2 separate regions of the Homo sapiens genome follow, and region 2 is linked to region 1. Evidence: promoter capture Hi-C in 16 types of primary human blood cells and fetal thymus (Javierre and others, 2016). All regions are on one chromosome and are shown on one strand. The core of a region is centred on a gene start or on the middle of the fragment in contact, and the rest is flanking DNA. Distances in the headings are between cores, read along the strand shown.

Evidence for each region. Contacts are between HindIII fragments. The CHiCAGO score rates a contact against its expected background, and 5 or more counts as called.
Region 2: a contact is called between the fragment with the promoter of CFAP20 here and the fragment with the promoter of SLC38A7 in region 1, in 6 of 17 cell types (total B cells, activated CD4 T cells, M0 macrophages and 3 more). The highest score is 7.0, in total B cells.

Annotation. Positions count from the first base shown.
Region 1 is chr16:58,682,540-58,686,079 of GRCh38, forward strand. SLC38A7 (solute carrier family 38 member 7) reads right to left here and starts at 2,231. Exons shown (of 12, transcript NM_018231.3): 1 at 2,178-2,231; 2 at 1,416-1,639. RefSeq lists enhancers at 1,603-2,447, 1,958-2,017. The HindIII fragment of the contact is 5,837 bases long and covers 1-2,288 here.
Region 2 is chr16:58,127,977-58,131,336 of GRCh38, forward strand. CFAP20 (cilia and flagella associated protein 20) reads right to left here and starts at 1,405. Exons shown (of 6, transcript NM_013242.3): 1 at 1,056-1,405. The coding sequence starts at 1,139. LOC101927556 (a long non-coding RNA gene) reads left to right here and starts at 908. Exons shown (of 4, transcript NR_188516.1): 1 at 908-1,687. RefSeq lists enhancers at 669-1,590, 1,130-1,299, 1,591-2,511 and silencers at 930-1,069, 2,192-2,429. The HindIII fragment of the contact is 18,688 bases long and covers 1-3,360 here.

The DNA.
Region 1 (3,540 bases), core at 981-3,480:
GCCTCAATCTACCAGGCTCAAGCAATCCTCCCACCTCAACTTCCCGAGTACCTGGGACTACAGGTGTGTGCCACCACAGCCAGCTAACTTTTAAAATTTTTTTTTTTTTTGAGACGGAGTCTTGCTTTGTCACCCAGGCTGGAGTGCAATGGCACAATCTCAGCTCACTGCAACCTCTGCCTCCCGGGTTCAAGAGACTTTCCTGCCTCAGCCTCCTGAGTAGCTGGGATTACAGGTGCCCGCCACCATGCCTGGCTAATTTTTGTATTTTTAGTAGAGATGGGGTTTTGCCATGTTGGCCAGGCTGGTCTTGAACTCCTGACCTTGTGATCCCCCTTGGCCTCCCAAAGTGCTAGGATTACAGGCGTGAGCCACCACGCCTGGCCAACTTTTTAAATTTTTTGTTCCTGTGGGGAACAAAATTGGCCTTTCAAAATTCAGGCCAATTCTCAACTCTTCTCCCATGTGACTTCTCCCACGTGACAAGCCCCCCACGCCTGTCATGTTTAAATTTTCTGTAGAGATGAGGAGGTCTCACTATGTTGCCCAGGCTGGTCTTGAACTCCTGGGCTCAAGCAATCCTGCTGCCTCGGCCTCCCAAAGTGCTGGGATTACAGGCGTGAGCCACAGCCCCCAGCCTGGTTTAGTCTTTATAGCCCAGAGGGAAAAAAAGGGAACTGAGCATATTCAGCCATAATGACTGCCCTAACCATTGGGCCACCCTCTCTGATGCCTTCAGCCCACTGGGGGTTTAAAATGACTAACAAGACCCCTTGGACTACTTCCCATTGCTCCTCCTGATGATGGACAAACAAAGCTGGGGACCATCCACTCATGAGAGGGAAAGGGTGAAAGTTCATGTGCTCTCAGCCATCTGTTATCAAGCATGGAACCAAGGGACATGGCACCAGAGGAAACATTCCTCTGCTGGCTCGAAACCCAGAAAGATCTGTCAGATGTCACAGGGCTTACACATCCTCTTACACATCCTGTCACCCAACCAGCAACTCAGCAAAATCAAAGCAGTGAGCAGCGAAGGCAGAGTCTTGGGACTCCCAGGCTTCCAGTGTAGCTAGAGAAAGAACCCTGCAAAGTGACCACTGCCAGAGCTGTGACCATCTCCTCCCCGCTGCTCACGTCACAGAGACAGAGGTCTACAGAGTGATTCGTCCAAGGTCACAAGGCTTGGTGCGGCTTCCTGACTCTCCAACCAAAATGTTTCCCTTGGGCACCCCTGCCCGAGTCCTGCACCATCCTCCAGCCTCTCCTGCCACCCACATGAGAGTGCAGGCTGGGGTCCTCGTGGAACTCAGAAGCTGGGGGTCCCACCTCTTGCAGATTCTCTGCCTTGGTTAAGACCTCTCGGCACCCCCACTGCTCACTGGCAAATTACTCAGCTCATTGTTGCACCTTACCTGCTCTTTCTCCCTGATGGGCTGTGCCAGAGGCGGTTGCTCCTTCTCCCCAAAGGTCTGGGATCTGATTCTCCTCACTTCCCTTTCTGGACCCAATTTCTTCTTTCTCAAGACTTTGCCTAAAATTTGCTGTCAGCAGAGGGAAGAGTTTGGGCTACTTCTGTGCTGGCTTCAGCAGAGCTGGAGGAAACTGAGCGGCTCTCACGCTTACTCATGAAATGGAGCTTCAGGACAGATAGGAAAACAGGCCCAGGAGGGAGAGGTTAGACTAAGGTCACAGTGGGTAGCTGGCAGAGCCAGAATAGAAGCCTGATGCCCACATGCTCAGGCCAGCGATGTAGGCCCCTCAGATCCCAACTGGAGTGTGCTCCCAGTCCAGCCTGGGGTTGGAGCCCTGAGATAGAAAGGGTGGGCTGCTTTGTGAGGTGAGGCTTTGTGAGGTGAGCCAGGGCGCACCCGGGCCAGGAGGCCGGGGCGGGGCGATTCCCAGGCCTGGAGCGAGAAGGGTGGGCTACTGTGGGGTAACCTGGGGAGGAGCTCCGGGACCCGATCCCGGCCTAGGACTGGGTGGAGACCCTCTGGCTGGGTAAAGGCGCGGCAGAGCTGGCGCAACAGAGGGACGGGCGTGGGGCGAGGACGCCAGGATCTGGACCCCTGCAGGGAAAGGGTCTGAGCTTTTCCGCGGTGGCGGGGACTGAGGGGCTCCACAGACCTCGGGGATCTAACACTTCCACCCTCCAGAGCCTGTCTCCGGCCACCTACCTTGGGGGATTCTTTCCCGAGCCGGCTGCGGAGACACGTGAGCATGCATCACATGACGCCCGCTCGGGCGGCCGCGGGACACGCTGGGAGTTGTAGTTTCCGCAAATGTGAAGCTTGGACAACACCAGCTCCCTGAATCCTCAGCCCGACAGCACTGCCCTGAGCCAGCCTCGCGTCCAGCCAGCTCGTGTTTATCCTCTTACTTTTAGTCTTGGCCTCTTGACCAAATCAAACACTGCTCCTTCCTCCAAGGAAGAGCATTAGGAGGTCTGGCCTCTTTGCCAGTCCCGGTGGCGGTGGGCCAAAGCTGTTTGGCCTCATTATCCTCCCGGTCTCTGTCCTTGCCTTCACGCCCATGGCCAGAGCACTGGAGTTTTTTTTTAATCAGTAATGTGGGGGACCTGGAGCCACGGTCTTTCCTGCAAGGGAGTGGGCTGGGGGCATGGTTACGACCCCATCGGTTTAGACTCTAGAACAGTTTTTGAGGGATTGTAGGTGCTCAGTAAATATTTGTTGAATGACGAAATGGGCATCCAGTCCTGGTTCTGTTCTTGGCTGTGTGTCACTCATAAATTGTCACGTAATCTCCAGCATCCCAATAGCCTCATCTCTGTTTTGTGGATATGCTCTCCACTGCACTTACCTCTCCATGCATCAGAGGTCCTCACCGATGAGGACACACTGGGAATCCTTAGAAACCCAAATCACACCTTTTTTTTTTTTTTTTTTTTTTTTTTTTTTGAGACAGAGTCTCACTCTGTCTCCCCGGCTGGGGTGCAGTGGCACGATCTTTGCTCACTGCAACCTCTGCCTCCCGGGTTCATGTGATTCTCCTGCCTCAGCCTCCCGAGTACCTGGGATTACAGGCATGCACCACCACTCCCAGCTAATTTTTGTATTTTTAGTAGAGATGGGGTTTCGCCATGTTGGCCAGGTTGGTCTCAAACTCCTGACCTCAAGTGATCCACCCACCTCAGCCTCCCAAAGTGCTGGGATTACAGGCATGAGCCACCGTGCCTGGCCTCCAAAAAGTTTATATAAATTGAATCATACTGGTTGAGTGCGGTGGCTCACACCTGTAATCCCAGCACTTTGGGAGGCCAAGGCGGGCTGATCACTTGAGGTCAGGAGTTCGAGACCAGCCTGGCCAACATGGCGAAGTCCTGTCTCTATTAAAAATACAAAAATTAGCTGGGCATGGTGGTGCACGCCAGTAGTCCCAGCTACTCGGGAGCCTGAGGCAGGAGAATCACTTGAACCCGGGGGGCGGAGGTGGCGGTGAGCAGAGATCGTGCCACTGCACTCCAGCCTGGGAGACAGAGTGAGACTCTGTCTCAAAAAAAAAAAAAAAAATAGAATCATA
Region 2 (3,360 bases), core at 155-2,654, 560 kb before region 1:
ACTGAGATTATTCCACATGCATCTCTCTAAAAAGCAGCATTCGGCATACCCACACTCGCCATTCTCCCAGAGAGCAGTACTAAGAATATGACTTAAATTTCACATTGGAGTGCCTCCCGTAACTTATATTCAAGAAATAGTACAGCTGATTGCCTGGGAATTTGCATGAAGAACGAAATACCAAAGTAATAAAATGCAGACCAATTCATAGACAGCTAGATCTTTCTTCACATCTGCAAAAAACAGATTCATCATCTCGTGGGGCCAAACACATATCATCTAGTGGATGCCTGAATAAAGATGAGGCCTGTACTTGGCTCTGAGTTTATTAATCCAAACAAGACTTTGACTGTCAGCATTCTGCAGTTTTCCTGATGGAGAAATCAGGCACCGAGGGCATAGTACAGGCAAGTCACAGTGAGTGTGGAGCAGGTGCCAAGGGCCACTGAATTCTGACTTATTTGGGATCAGTGGGAGGAAGGGAGCAAATGAATGCAATTTAAACATCACTGGCTTGGCCGGAGTCTTTCTGTCTGCTCCTCTGTAAGGGTGCCTGAACAAAGGCTCTGTGTCTAGTGCCCAGCACCGTGCCTGGCACAAAAACGGATATCAGTAAATATTTGGAATTCGTGAATAGCAGGTCCTTTCATCTTTACATCCCCAAAGCTCCTTCAAATAAGTTCGTGCATTTCATGCTACGAGATGGGCACCATCAACCCCATTATATTGGTGGGGAAACAGTGGCTCAAAAGAATGGACTGACCGACCAAGTCAAGACAGCAGCGAGGGTCGCGGTCCTAACCACACCACAGCTGCAGGACACTTAGATCTCAGCCACGCCCACCCACATGCACCGCCCCCCCCCCACCTCCTCCGCTGCTTACACGACGCCCCCACCTCGCGCCCCAGTCCCGCCAGGCTGGGGACAAGGCACAGCAGCGTCCTCTCGGCCTCTCCCAGGCCCCAATTCGACACAACCATTCCCCGTCCCCAGCCCCCGGACGAGGAGGGGGTGCAGCCCCTCCACCCCGCCCCGTCGCCGCCCCTAGCCCGACCTTTTTGTCCCAGATTTGCAGAGGCTTGCTGCCGATGCTGTAGAGGATGGAGAGGAAGCCGCTCTGGAACGTGTTTTTGAACATCTCGCCGGCGGCCTTCTCCTAAGCCGCCCCCGGAGCCGACCTAGGCCCCGGAGTAGATACAGGCACCGAGCGTCGAGGGCACAGCAGCAGGCCGGCCCTGTTCCGAAGAAGGGTGGTTGAGCTCCTGGCCTCCGGATCTGCAGCCACTGATGGCCGGACTCGGACGCGGCAACGCTAAGTCCGCGATCTTCAGCTCCTAAGCTGCGAGCTCAGAACGGAAACCACAGCAACTACCGTCCGCGCCGCGGTATTTCCCCGCCTTCAATGGAGGCGGAGGGCCGCCCGTTGCTTAAAATGAATCCCTCCGCCCATCTGAGCCCGCCCCCCGGGAGCGCGGGGCCCAATCCCGTTACAAGGACCACGGACTTCCGTTTCGTTCCGCCTGTAAGTCCCGCCTGGTCCCGCCTCCTCCTGAAAAGAGCTCAGTTGTCAAGGAACTATTTTTCTTGCCGTCGTCCCAGAGATGCCTTTGGAAAAGCGGAAGGGCACGGAGGGTTCTGGAGTTCGTTGCTGGCACCTGCGTGGTGTCATGAGAACGTGGCGGGGCGGTGAGTGACGTGAGGGGGCGTGACGGCCAGGCCGGGAGTAGTTGCCCGCGCGGGAGAACAGGGGCTGCGCAGGGAAAGCGGCTTTGAAAAAGAGCTTCTTGGCGTCGGGCGGACGCCCAACACATGCTTGTCGGCCAAGTACAGGATAAGGTTAAAGGGAACTAACCAATATTCAGCACTAACTGTGATAAGCGCCTAATATACATCCCTGCCTGTCATTATTCACATTGTGGCATGCAGTCAAAGCGACACTCTGAGGAAAATGTATCGCCTTAAATACATTGATTAGAAAATAAGAAAGCCCGAACATGATTAGGCCGGGCGCGGTGGCTCACGGCCGAAATCCCAGCACCTTGGGAGGCCGAGGCAGGCGGATCGCTTGAGTCCAGGAGTTCAAGACCAGCCTGGGCAAAAAAGCGAGACCCTTCCTCTACAAAAAAATACAAAAATCAGCCGGGCGTGGTGGCGCGCGCCTGTAATCCCAGCTACTTGGGGGGCTGAGGTGGGATGATCCCTTGAGCCCGGGAGGAGGAGACTGCAGTGAGCCGAGACCACGCCACTGCACTCCAGCCTGGGCGACAGAGCGAAACCCGGTCTCAAATAAATAAATAATCCTGAACATTAAGATAAAGGCAGACATTCATAAACAAAATTAAGAAAGTTGAGTTGAACCAACAGCTGATTTTTATTTTATTATTTATTTGTTTATTTATTTTTGAGACAGGATCTCGCTCTGTCACCTAGGCTGGAGTGCAGTGGCGCGATCATGGCTCACTGCAGCCTCGACCTCCCCTGCTCAGCCTATCCTTCCACCCAGTCTCCAGAGTAGCTGACTACAAGCGTGGGCCACCATGCCTGCGTTAATTTTTTGTTTTTGTAGAGACAGGGTTGCACTGTGTTGCTCAGGCTGGTCTCAAACTCAGGCTGGTCTACACTCCAGCCTGGGCAACACAGTCTCTGAAAAATAAAAATAAAAATTAATACGGCTGGGCGCGGTGGCTCACGCCTGCAATCCCAGCACTTTGGGAGGCTGAGGCAGGTGGATCACGAGGTCAAGAGATCGAGACCATTCTGGCTAACACGGTGAAACCCCGTCTCTACTAAAAATACAAAAAATTAGCCGGGCGTGGTGGCGGGCACCTGTAGTCCTAGCTACTCGGGAGGCTGAGGCAGGAGAATGGCGTGAACCCATGAGGCAGAGCTGGCAGTGAGCTGAGATCACGCCACTGCACTCCAGCCTGGGTGACAGTGAGACTCCGTCTCAAAATAAATAAATTAATAAATTAATTAATACCTAGAATATTTTAGAAAACATAAAGTAAGCTACATTTTGAGTGTAAAGGGAAATCTCAAATGTTGACATAGTCACTGAGCATCTACCTAAATATTGTATTTTTTGCCTAGGCCTGTGCTGGGTGGTATGGCTGATAGAAAAGGAGTCTGTAGCTAATATCATCATTATTAGCAGTTTTTGTCCATTATAGCAGTAAGTTGAACATTTACTATGTGTCAGGCACTATATATTAACACCTTAGCATGTATTAACTCATTCAGTCCTCACATCAGCCCCCTAAATAATCCAGCCAGAATTTCTGGACATAGTGAGAAAATATATGAATCTTATTACTGTAGAAAGTCAAAAACTTTTTATATGAAACTGTCATTTTTGGATG